Linked DNA regions of Homo sapiens: all the other regions are linked to region 3. The links are contacts of gene promoters, found by promoter capture Hi-C in blood cells and fetal thymus (Javierre and others, 2016). All regions are on one chromosome and are shown on one strand. The core of a region is centred on a gene start or on the middle of the fragment in contact, and the rest is flanking DNA. Distances in the headings are between cores, read along the strand shown.

Region 1 (4,046 bases), core at 218-2,717, 2.3 Mb after region 3:
CTTTCCTTTTGATATAAAAAATTGTACCTCGCAGCCAGGCACAGTGGCTCATGCCTGTAACCCCAGCACTTTGGGATGCTGAGGCAGGTGGATCACGAGGTCAGGAGATCGAGACCATCCTGGCTAACATGGTGAAACCCTGTCTCTACTAAAAATACAAAAAAAAAAAAAAAAAAAATTAACTGGGCGTGGTGGCAGGCACCTCTAGTCCCAGCTACTCGGGAGGCTGAGGCAGGAGAATGGCATGAAGCCAAGAGAGGCGGAGCTTGCAGTGAGCTGAGATCACACCACTGCACTCCAGCCTGGGCAACACAGCGAGACTCCGCCTCAAAAAAAAAAAAAAATTGTACCTCTGTGAGTTTGGGACTATAGGTTTCATTTTTGTTCTGATTCTTCTAAAACAGCAACTTAATTATTCCTATTCTGAACAGGATCTTGGGCTCCTACAAAGGTACAGTAACAATTCAGTGCAGAAAAGATAATATTCAAATCAGTCATGGAAGAGACGACTGCTTTACTCTTGTCTGAGTACTTATCCAACTTTAGTACTTTGGCATGGTGATAGACAAAAAAATAGAAAATAAGGTAATAGGAACCATCTTCTAGGTAACAAGGCAGAGTCAAACCATAAACCATCTTAACCTAAAGCTAACAGTGTTCTGCTTATACTGATGGTCTTTAAAATGCTTCAATATTTTTCCTGAGGAAAACTTCTCACTTTTCAGTTATATCTGAATGTCTCAATTACCTTATTTATTCTTGTACTTTCATCTTGAAATACTATGCATCTATTGATTATAGAAAATAAATTCATTCAGTCATCTAGGATAATGGTCCAGAAAACAAGAACAATGTAATGTTTGACAGTAAACATTGGCAAGGGCTGACAGTTTTTTCTTGGGAAGGCCTATCCTTTACTGCGAGTTCATGTTCTCCTACATTTTCAGTGTTAAAATTTCCTTTATTTTATATAACAATGGTGATAGAACATGACAATCTTTTTGTATTTTTAAAGTATTCTTCCCTGGCAAAATAAAAAGTTGATACCTCTATGACAAACACACAAATTTTTAAATTCCTAAACTTTACTGTTCCCTGAAATCCAAAAGTTTGAAGACCACTGCTCTATATGTATCCTGCTTGTATAAGATAAGCTTCAACTTAATTTTCTATTCTTTTCAACATTACAAAATTTTAAGAAACTTTCTGGCTTAAGGATATGCTTATGCTTTAACAACTTTTGTAACTAAAAATCTAAACATTTATCATAGCAGTGGTCATTACTCTTTTTAGTCTATTAAGTAAATCCAACTAAAGCTATTTCCTCTAAATAGGTAATTCTCATTAGACCTAACTTGGCCTTAGTTATTCTGTCACTTATTCAACCTTCATGTAATTCAGTGCTAAAGTCTTCCTTATACATTAATCCCTGGTATTTTTTATTGTTATTAATTTTGAAAAATACATTGTATACACGCCTAAGGTACAAAAAGCAAGACCCAAGAAAGAAGGTACGTGTCAAAAGTCTTTCCGCGAGCAAAATTTCCAAAAATTATTTAAGAAGAGGTTTTAATTTTTTCTCAGCCATATAAGCAAGCAAGGGAAGTAGTACATATTTAAAGTTCTTAATAAATCCACAAATTTGGCAATATCTGAACCATTTGTACAGTAACAACTATCATTATTTTATAATACCACTATTCCCTAGAAAATACATAAAACATAAAACTACCTATCTAGCAAGAGACTAAAAATTATCAACTGAAGCCACCACTGAAAGGAAGCTTACTCTAAACTTGCACTTAACAATACCCTGGAGAGAACATTTAATCAAAGATCTACCTTTTTCAATATAACATACACACATACAAGCTTATGAGTTTTAAAATCTCATCAATTTTAAATTACTTTTTACTTTCACAAAAGAACATTAAAGAAATGATTATTCAAAGCTAGCTTTAAAAAGAGAACACCCTAAGATCAGGAATTCCTATTTTATAAAATAATATACTACCCCCTACCTCTACCCCCAAAACTAGATTTTTTCAAGGCTCCAGTTGAATGACTTATCAGACCCATAGTCTTATGGTTACAATGCCCCAAGGGCAACTTCTACCAGGTAAGCAATGTACCACTGTGCTGGCAGAGAACATTCACTACAAAGAGGATAAATAAATGTAGAGGTTTTTTCAAAACTTATTTAAGTTGAAATCAACTTAAAACTTCTGAAAAGCATCTCACTCTTTCATTGCTTTCATTTGGAAAACTATTTCATCCCTGGAACAATGGCAAGGACAAAACAGTGACACTGTCTTCTCTACAATTCCTGAAGAAAGAACACACAGGGCAAAAAAGGCTCCTATGAATCCCCTACACCTCACTCCCATTTTCCTTTTTTTTTAATCTTTGAAACCCAAATGAAAGACAAGGTTGCAGATATTCCGGTCAGTCCTTGGAAAGACAATTCAAGATTGATAGTTTAAGGTAACTTTACTAAGAGTACCCTCAAAGTTAGAGGTATAGACCATGTCTTAGGCAAAAAGTCATAGAAGTCTAGTTGGGGCTATGCTGAACTAGGGACACTTCTTTTAGAGTTCAACCTGATGAGACCAGGAAGCAGTAGATGAGGAATGGCTAAGATGGGCAGACATTAGAACTGCTTGTACCTTATCCCTCACCACTCATTCTGCCAAAGCAGATCCTGTTTTGGGTCAGCTGAAAAAAAAGAATAATGGGTAGTGGAGTGGCCCTATCTACTATGAAAAAGAAAGAAAGGAGAATCCCTGGTATCTCACGACAGCACAATTTGACATTCCACTTGGTGACTAAATATGTATTTTAATTGTATTATGTTACACACAGAATTGCTTATAACTGCATTAGGACATTCTTTGAGGGCATGAATTCCACTTCAGGTGTTCTACCTATTGTCAAAGCATATTATTTAGTAAGTTAAAAAATTCATTTATATTAAAACTTAAAAGTAATACTTATAAATCATTTAAATCTGAATTGATAAATTATTTTTAAAACTTACTGCTTCAGCTTCTGCTCTTGTCTTGAATGTAATTACTGCATGAAGTGAGGAATCATCAATCTGACAATCTTCAATTTCACCATATTGCTTTAAATTAAAAAAAAAGTATTTCCTCCAAATAAATATTTTGAAATATCCAAAAATCCTAATGGTATTAAAAAACATTAAAATACTAATAAATATAACCCAGAATACATAACAATTCATAATGGTTAACAGAAAAGTATGGTGAGTAATTTATTTTAGTACTTGATAAGATAAAAGGTGGTCCTGTCTTCCAATCTTACATACAATTCACACTTCCCAGAATTAGTAAAACTTATACTCAATTGAACTATGCTTTAAATGAAGGAAATAATGGTCAAAGCCTGAGCGTTCTTGCTAACTAACTTTCCTCTTATACTCACTAAACCAATCCCAAGATAAACTCTTTCTTAAGCAACATACTGAATCCTCAGAATTTGTGAGTTTTTGGTATCATTCTCAATAAATGGGGAAAGAAAGAAAAAGAAAATTTAAGTAACTTCCCCAAAGTTAATTGTTAATTAATGGGAAGAGATTCCAGGTCTCTTGATTCAAAAGTTTAACACCCTAACTGACCATGGTTTTGCTTACTACACACTCTACTGTACTTTATAGTTGTTTAGAACATTTAAAAGCTAAACACATTATATTATTCCTGTTTTTGGTTTGTTGGATTTTTTTCCCTCATGTGTGGGAGGATTTTTCTACAAACAGCAACCTTTATCCCACAAAATTCTAGTCCTTTATATATCATTATCAATACCTTCCTAATTATCCCCCCCAAAAATTATAACTGTAATCTCATTAGCTCCACACATATCATAGAAATGTTCTGTAGAGCACAGTAAAGAGAATGTCCTAGAGCCACTAAGATTCTAGCTCTGCCAGTTATTAGCTGTGTAAACAAGTTACTTAACCTCATCATGCATCATTTTCTTCACCTCTAAAATGGGCGTAAATAAAGGTATCTACCTCACAGGGTTAT
Region 2 (3,988 bases), core at 163-2,662, 2.3 Mb after region 3:
CCAATTTTTAGAAAACTCACACTTGGGGATTGCTTACAGAACAGAGTAACATTTTTGGAAGAAACCAAACCATATTGTCATAATAATACAGAAATGATCCTGAAAATCAATGCACAATTATACTCCTCAATTTTCCTGGCCACCTTACTTATCAAACCAAGTCTTCTTTGTAGGAACTCCAGGCTCTCCAGAACCAATGGTTCTTTTCCTTGATTCTGAGTCCACTACTATCCTCATACTGCTTTTATTGGGAGGCTTTTCTGTTTTAAAACAAAAGAAAATGAAAAAAATAAGCATAGGTTAATATTTTCTATTTATCATAGATACCTTCCTCATACAGGAAAATTTCTGGCTTTTGTCTAAATATATATATATATATATAATTTTTTTTTTAGAAGAAATAGAAATAAATGTATAGTAGCTCCCCCTTATCCAGTTTCATTTTTACGATTTCAGTTATCTCTAGTCAACCACAGTCCAAAATTATGGAAAACTACAGAAATAGTAAACAATTCCTAAGTTTTAAACTGCCTGCAGTTCTGAGTAGTGTGATAAAATCTCACACCATCCTGCTCCAACACTTGATCTCATCATGTAGGCATTTTATCATCCCCTATCATCCCAAGAAGGGTAAATACAAAAAGATATTTGACAGAGAAAGACAGGGACCATTCACATAACTTTTATTATAGTATATTGTTATAATTATTTCATTTTATTATTAGACATTGTTGTTTAGCTCTTACTGTGTCTAATTTATAAGTGAAACTTTATCACAGGTGTGACTGTATAGGAAAAAGCATAGTATATGTAGGGTTTGGTACTCTGTGGTTTTACACACGAGGAGTCTTGGAACATATCACCCACAGACAAAGGGGAATTACTGTACATTCAAATACAGTAATCTAAGGGTTTTTTCAAACTTATTTCAACATATTCATTTCACAATTAACTATGAAAAAGAATCAATTCTCACATGCCAAATTAAAATGTGATTCTGTAGGTCACTTCTTTGTAGATAAAACCCAAGTCATTGTTCCCATCTACCATCACCCTCACCACAAATATATATATATATATCAATGCACAAATGAGAAAATAATCACTTTGAGGCTTTAAGTTCATAGTTTTGAAATCAAATGCACAATCTAAAAGATTCAAAACTTTACACTAATCCAATAATCTTTGAGAAGTGAAAGGTTAGAGTTATGATTGAAGTGAGCTGCTTTTAAATATGGAATAGACTCATAAAATATGAATGTAATGAAAGCATACTTGCTTTAAAAAAGGAAAAGATTCAAGTCTAAAATACAGTGTAAAAGAGCTGTAAAAGTCTGTTACTTTCAACATTTTATATTTACTTACATGGCATGTAATGAGCATAGTACATTTAACCTGTTATTCCCAAATGACTCCAAAGTTTAAAACATGCAAACCTTAATCCACATAGAAAAATGTAACTTAAAAACTCCTTTTTTATAGATGGCAAAATTGATTTGTCTAAAATCCTATTTTTACATATTTCTAAACACCTAACTAACCAAAAGAACTGAAGATCTGTTTCAGCACAATATCTCTCATGGCCACAGCTATGGTCTCCTGCAGGAGGAGAGCATATACTCAATTCTAAATTTTCAACTTCTTTGTTCTCTCTGGAAATCCTACAGGTATCTCAAAACTCACTATGCAGAACGTTCAAATTATTTTCATATTAAGTCTATCTTTTATTTTTCTTAAACATTTCTATTAATGAAACTACCATTTTCCCAATCATCCCAGTCAAGTCATATTTGATATATGACTACCCACATATGCCATACATACAGAGACTCAAATCAACGCTCTAGACTCCTGCTGCTTTCCTCCATTTTCAACCTTTCCCAGGACACTGATACCTCCCATCAACATTCAAACATTACAGCTCTAATTACTCCATTTTAAAAAAAAGAAACTCTCGTAAAACCAGTTTTCCCTTTAGCAACAACATCTCTCTCCATACTCCCACAGCCCTTTCCTAATCAATGTCCACACTTACTAACTTTGCTTCCTTAACACCCACTCACTAATCCTCTGAAAACTGGCAGTTGCTCCCATTACTTCACTTTACTTGCTCGTGCTAAAATCACTCATGTCCTCACCTGTTGCTTAAGCCTATGAATACATCCCAGTCCTCTTACTGGACCTCTCAGGAGAATTTGCGGCTGTTGATCATCTTCTTTTCCATCTTAGGTATTATATTCCCTGGGTTTTTAGGAATCCCCACTCCTTGCTTTTGTCTGCAGCTTTTGGGCTTCATTTCTAAGTTTTCTATAAAGTTCTCCTTTCTCTGTCCATTTACTTTGATGCTGACATTTGTCAAGTAGTTATACTTGGGTTTTCTCATCTCACTTTACATAGCCTTCCTAAAATAACTTTCTTATCTACTGCCATGGCTTCATTCATCTTTTTCAGTGATTCTCAGTGGGGATGGGGAGAGGAAGATTTTAGAAACGCACGAGAAAGGTTTTTAAAATTATGTTAAGTCAGACCTACAGATTTTGGTATGGCTCCTTCTATCTCCCTTTACCTCCCACTGGTACTAATGGGACAGAAGAAAAGATTAAGGACCAAAGTTCTACATATGCATGATTCCAAAATCTGTATATTCTAGTCAACTGTCTCTCATGGGCCTCAGACTTCCATATCCTATTTCCCACTGGACATTTCTACTCAAATGCCCCAGGGGGACAAGAAGTTAAACACTTTCAAAACTAAATTTATCTTTCTGTCAAAGCTGTCCTTCTCAATGAATGATATTATCATCTGCCCAATTATCCAGGGCAGGAAACGGGTGTCTAATTTCATCCACTTATTACCCCTATTCTAAGCCTCCAAATTAAATAAGTTACAAGTTTTGTCAATTCTTTCCACTAAACTTATTTTTTTCATTTCTATTATTACCCTAGCCCAGCTACTATCACCTCTATTCTAAAATTCTGTAAATGCTTTTAATTAGCCTCTTACCTCCCTCTACATTACTTACTTCTTCTCTTACAGTCACAAAATTCCTTCAGTTTCTCAAAAGTATCACAGGGTACATAGGCTGTATCTATTCTCTTCCTCTGTCTAACTCTGACTTATCCTACATCTCTAGGAAACATCCTGTATCTAGCACGTGCGATGTTTCTCTGTCCAGTGGTACCTTCCAAGGACCGGTTCTGCAAAAGGATTTTTGGTCTTATTCCTGTCTCCCAAGTCTGGTTCACCAGCCCTTTTGGAGAATCTGTGACCTATCCAACATCTTTTGTTTTTTACTTTAATATGTTCCGTACCTGAAGGTTCACTAAGAGAGGGAATAATGTGTTTTGCCTCCAGTAATTGAAATGGGTTTGCTCCATCTCATCTGTATTCTCTAATTCGGAATCCCTTTCATTGATATATATTTAAAAGAAGGGTATTAAAAACACAGAAGCAAGTTCCTCTTGGTATATACTCAGCAAATGATCTAATATTAAATAGTTTTATGTAATGTATTTTTCCCCAATAATCATTTTAATGAATTGTTTTTCTGCCTAAAATTGTCAGCACTGGTTTTGTTGACTAGAAATGGAAAACTACTTAACCCTTCCTCCTCCCTATATCCAATCATGACATCATCCATCAAGTTTTCCACCTCCTTAGAACTCTGCAAAAAATAACTGTCAGGGCCTCTAGGTAACTTTTACATTAGTAATTTCAATGCATCAAAGGGCCCAAATTTCTTTCCTTTTGCTGAATAATTGCCCTCAAAATTTAAAGCAGTAAGCATAAAAGTTTAACTATCACATAATAATAAGTCTATGACAAATTTAAATTAAGGCCATCTATAGGCTATTAGGAACGTGTAATAATTATATAATTAACAATAAATAAGCTTTTTATGTATCTGTCACAATCCAGGACAGTAAATTTAAAATCCAAACTGGGAATAGATGAGAACACATGGTGGGAGGAGGGAGAGGACTAAAAA
Region 3 (4,226 bases), core at 1,363-3,862:
TTATTCACATAATAGTCTTTGCTAATAAATACTTTGCTGGTCCTAAAAATAGAAACTTTCTTTTGTCTATTATAGTACTGTTTTAAATAAAATGTACTTAAATACCTTTCCAAGTTCAGGTTAAAGAAGTTGACAAAATTTTTTTTAACAGTATGCAACACTAAGGGACAGTATCTCTTGATCTAGATATAAAAACACTATATGATCACCAAAGCCTATTTTAAGAACTTACCAGTTTACAAATAGCTGAATTAAGTCTGTTAATTGTCATACGTAATATGTCTATGTTACAATTATAGTGCATTAAGCAATTGAAAAAAATGTAAGGCCAAATTCCAATAAAAATATCCTCTGCACTATCCTCATTTGTGCATGAAAATAACAGAAGTGAGTGGACACTTAAAATTTTAAATGTCAATTTTTCCAAGTTGATTTCATTTATGTATGAAAAAATTTACACTACTTTAATAGTATCTTATTAAATCTATTTACACATGAAACTCTGCTATACATAAAATTAAACATCTCAGAGCATCTTCCAGCCTGCAAATAATTTACATCAATGGACCCTATAATTCCTACTTTTGTCAAAGTGAAAACACCTCCTATATTTGAAAAGAAGTGTGGAGAACCAAGCTGTACTATAAAACGTCAATGAGACATTCTAGACTCTAGAAATCTAGAGCACCAAAACTAGGCCTCTTCAGGGCTCTGGCAGTTTAATTTCCTGCAAAGCTTCTAGGCCCCAAATAATGCAACTTAGGCCACCACAGCTTTTGGTGAGGGACTGATATGACTACAAACTGCTAAATAGCAAACTACTGAGGAAAGACCACAGACTAGCTGAGCAGCACAAGGAGTTAGTGAACTAACTCTATGTTCCATAAACTTTCCAGGTGGGCGCGGTGGGCCACGCCTGTAATCCCAGCACTTTGGGAGGACAAGGCGGGCGGATCGCTTGAGCTCAGTAGTTTGAGACCAGCCTGGGCAACACGATGAAACCTGTCTCTACAAAAATTAGCTGGGCATGGTGGCCCATGCCTGTAGTCTCAGCTACTAGGGAGCCTGGGGTGGGAGGATCGCTAGAGCCGAGATCGCGCCACTGCACTCCAGCCTGGGTGACAAAGTGAGTCCTTGTCTCAAAAAAAAAAAAAAAAAAAAAAAAACTTTGAAAGAAGCAACTTCATTAGGTGAAGACCGGAAGTGAACAGCTAGCCGTGTGCATCGTTGTATTAGGCACTTTTACACTGGGCATGCAATAATTTTAAATGCTCATTTGTAGTTAACTCTAAAAAGCCTATTTTGGCATCACAGTTCCTTTCTGTTCTGCTTTTACTAATATCAAACTAATATGCATTCTTTGGCTGAACTACAAGAATAAAACACTATAAAGAGGTTAACTCACAACTAAATGCTTAGAGAGCGCACAGTGGCGAAAATCTGTCTACAGGTCATATAGATAGATAGATAACTGATAGTTGATGGTATTTTTATAAATATTTCAGAGATAACAGAAACTAAGTTACTTTTTTTTCAAGTTAGAAAAGGAGGATTCTAATTAAAAAATCTGGGTCACTCAACTGGATATCATTAGCAACGACAAAATAAAAATGATCTCTCTCACCTCTCAGCTTGGAGATACAGACCATTTACTGGGCTGCTTCCTGACCCCTGTCTGCAACCCCACCTAAAGGACTGCCCACGCCAAAGGCAGACGCGAATCCGCTCAACACAAGTTGACCAAGTTTTTCGCCTGGCTAAGCGGCAGGGGCGTCCCCTCCTCCCTGCGCCACCTCCCCACCGACTGGCTTCCCCTGACATTTCTCATGCGCCCCACCCTGGGCAGTTTGCTTTGACATTTCAGTGCCTCATTGCTCAAGCTACCAGCACGGGCGTAGCCGACGCCGGGAGAGCCCACAGAGTGCGAGCTCCATGGTGCCTGTCACCAGCCCCCGCCAAGGGTCATAAAGCCTGGCAGGAGCCGCGGCGAACCCGGGAGCGGCGGCGTCGCGGGCAGGCTGCAGGCGGCCGCCGCACACGCACCACGCCTTGTTGACATGTTTGGAAGCAGGCACGGCGGGGAAACGCCCCCAAGCAAGCTCCAAGGTCTGGGTGCCGCGCCCCGCGCCCCGCCCGGCACTCCTGAGGAGCGGCCCGCGCGCGCCCCGGCCCCCGCGCCCCCCCCCACCCCACCCCACCCCGGCCCGCCCACAGACGGTCCGCGGTCCCTCCCCGGCTCCGCCGTCGCAGCGGGGCTCGGCCCTGCCCCTCCGCCGTTACCTGCTGCCGGGGGCGGCTTCCCCCACACACCACCCCGTGCTCCGGGGACGGCGGCGGCTGCAGGTCCCGCGGCTCTCACATGAGGCGCCCCTGGCCCCCCGCTTCGCGCTCCCGCAGCCGCGGCCCCCCGCGCTCCGCCCGCATCCGAGGCGCTGGTCCCGCGGAGGGCGCCAACGCGGCTCCACCTTTGCGGCTCTGGCTGCCCAGAAAGAAGCTTTCCTTCTCAGTCCCGCGCTGTCTGTGTTCAGGGATCCCCGGCGCCGCGAGAGACTACCTCAGCGAGCGGCTGCCACCGCGTAAGCTTCCTGCACCTGGGCCACAAACAGCGAGTCTAAAATGGCGCCCAGGGCTCGCGGCCGCGCGCTTCCCTGGCGCGTCCCCGCCCAAGGGGGCGGGAAGGGGGCGGGGGGGGGGCGGAGCCCGGCGGGAGTAGGGCCGCGCCCAAGCGGGAGCGCGCGCTGCGGCCGCCCCAGTCTCCTTGCTGTGGGACGAGCCTCTGCCTTCCTGCCAGAGATGTGACTCCCGCTTGAAGGGGATTTTTTTTGTTGTTTTGAGATGGAATGTGGGAGGGCTGAAGCTAGCTATATGTGGAAGAGACTATCTGTGGCTGAAACTGGAAGGTTTAGGGAGGTGGAGCAGAAAAAAGAAAGGAAGGAGTCTCGCCGGAGCCTGCTGGGGACCGCGGCCCGCGGGTGGCCGCCCCGGATGCCTGAAACCGAGGAGTTAAATACAGTCTCCGAAGACCCGCGCATCGATGTGCATAAGTGGTGCTTAAAAGATGCCAAGGAAATGTACCAGAATAGTGAGAGTATTAACGCTGGGATTGCACATGGTTTTTGTTTTTCAAATATTTGTATTTCCCAATATTTCTAAAGTGGCTTTTATCATTAGAGTTATTACATTTTAAAAACGACATTTGCTTTATGAAATAGAGTCCTGAAATTTGTAAATAGCTTTTGAAACGCAATGGGGAAAGTAAAGGATTACAAAGCTGCTGAAAAGAAAACCTCTGGTGAATCCTTTTGTAAATCAAGGCATCTTTGTAACTGCTACCTAGTTGACTTGTTTTAAAGTTTGGATTTTTTGATACTGCGTTTTCTTACAGTTAGAAACATTCTTAGGTGCAATATCATTAAGTTGAATCATGCGCCATTCCTCTCTACACCTCCAAAAAAAAAGAGAGAAAGTAGTTTTCCATTCAAAGATGTCTTAGAACACTCAGACCCATGTATAAGACACTGAAAAGCAGTGGTGCCCAGGGAGCTCTCCGTTCTTCCCGTTTTCTCAAGAAATTGAGCTAGGAAGCCATGTATAAAGTTACGTCGAAGTTCAGTGTGAGGCCAGGAGTGGTACAGGCTTATGTCTGTAATCCCAACATTTTGGGAAGCCAAGGCAGAAGGGTTGCTTGTGGTCAAGAATTGGAGACCAGCCTGCGCAATATGTCCAGACTCTTGTCTCTACAAAAAAATAGAAGAGTAATAATTTTAAAAAATCAGACGAGCTTGGTGTAATCCCGGCTACTACTCAGGAGGCTGAATCGAGAGGATGGCTGGAGCCCAGGAGTAGGAGGTTACAGTGACCTATGATGTCACCACTGCACTTCAGTCTGGGTGAGAGAGTGAGACTGTTTCTATAATAAAATGAATTCAATGTGGGGAAATGCCAGTGTTGTTTGTTCGGTGTTTTTTAAGGGCCTGTCAGCTGTCAGATCACTGAATCAAACTGTACAAAGCCTCTAGTAGCATAAGAGTGTGGATTTGCCTGAGCTGCAACATTTGTTTAGGTCCCTCAGTGACTGGATGATGAGGAACAATAGGAAGTTCTAAGAAGGACAATGATAATTATTAAGGAAAAACAAATAAGTCAAATACAGGCCCATTTATTTAAAGTTGGGTGAACAGTATAAATGATCAGCAAAATACATTAAACCAATTCAGTAAACATGA

What was found. The method cuts DNA at HindIII sites, captures the fragments that hold promoters and counts their contacts. A CHiCAGO score of 5 or more calls a contact.
Region 1: a fragment that was not itself captured here is called in contact with the fragment with the promoter of FBXL3 in region 3 in 1 of 17 cell types (total B cells); the score reaches 14.4 in total B cells.
Region 2: a fragment that was not itself captured here is called in contact with the fragment with the promoter of FBXL3 in region 3 in 2 of 17 cell types (total B cells and monocytes); the score reaches 8.0 in total B cells.

The regions. Positions count from the first base shown.
Region 1 is chr13:79,331,307-79,335,352 of GRCh38, forward strand. It overlaps RBM26 (RNA binding motif protein 26), which reads right to left. Exons shown (of 22, transcript NM_001366735.2): 20 at 3,038-3,124. Among named protein-coding and RNA genes, the nearest start is that of RBM26, 73 kb to the right of the region's middle. RefSeq lists an enhancer at 1-366. The HindIII fragment of the contact is 630 bases long and covers 1,153-1,782 here.
Region 2 is chr13:79,359,427-79,363,414 of GRCh38, forward strand. RBM26 (RNA binding motif protein 26) reads right to left here. Exons shown (of 22, transcript NM_001366735.2): 10 at 149-260. Among named protein-coding and RNA genes, the nearest start is that of RBM26, 45 kb to the right of the region's middle. The HindIII fragment of the contact is 4,955 bases long and covers 1-3,890 here.
Region 3 is chr13:77,024,547-77,028,772 of GRCh38, forward strand. FBXL3 (F-box and leucine rich repeat protein 3) reads right to left here and starts at 2,613. Exons shown (of 5, transcript NM_012158.4): 1 at 2,281-2,613. RefSeq lists silencers at 2,154-2,213, 2,234-2,513, 2,684-2,733. The HindIII fragment of the contact is 14,791 bases long and covers 2,580-4,226 here.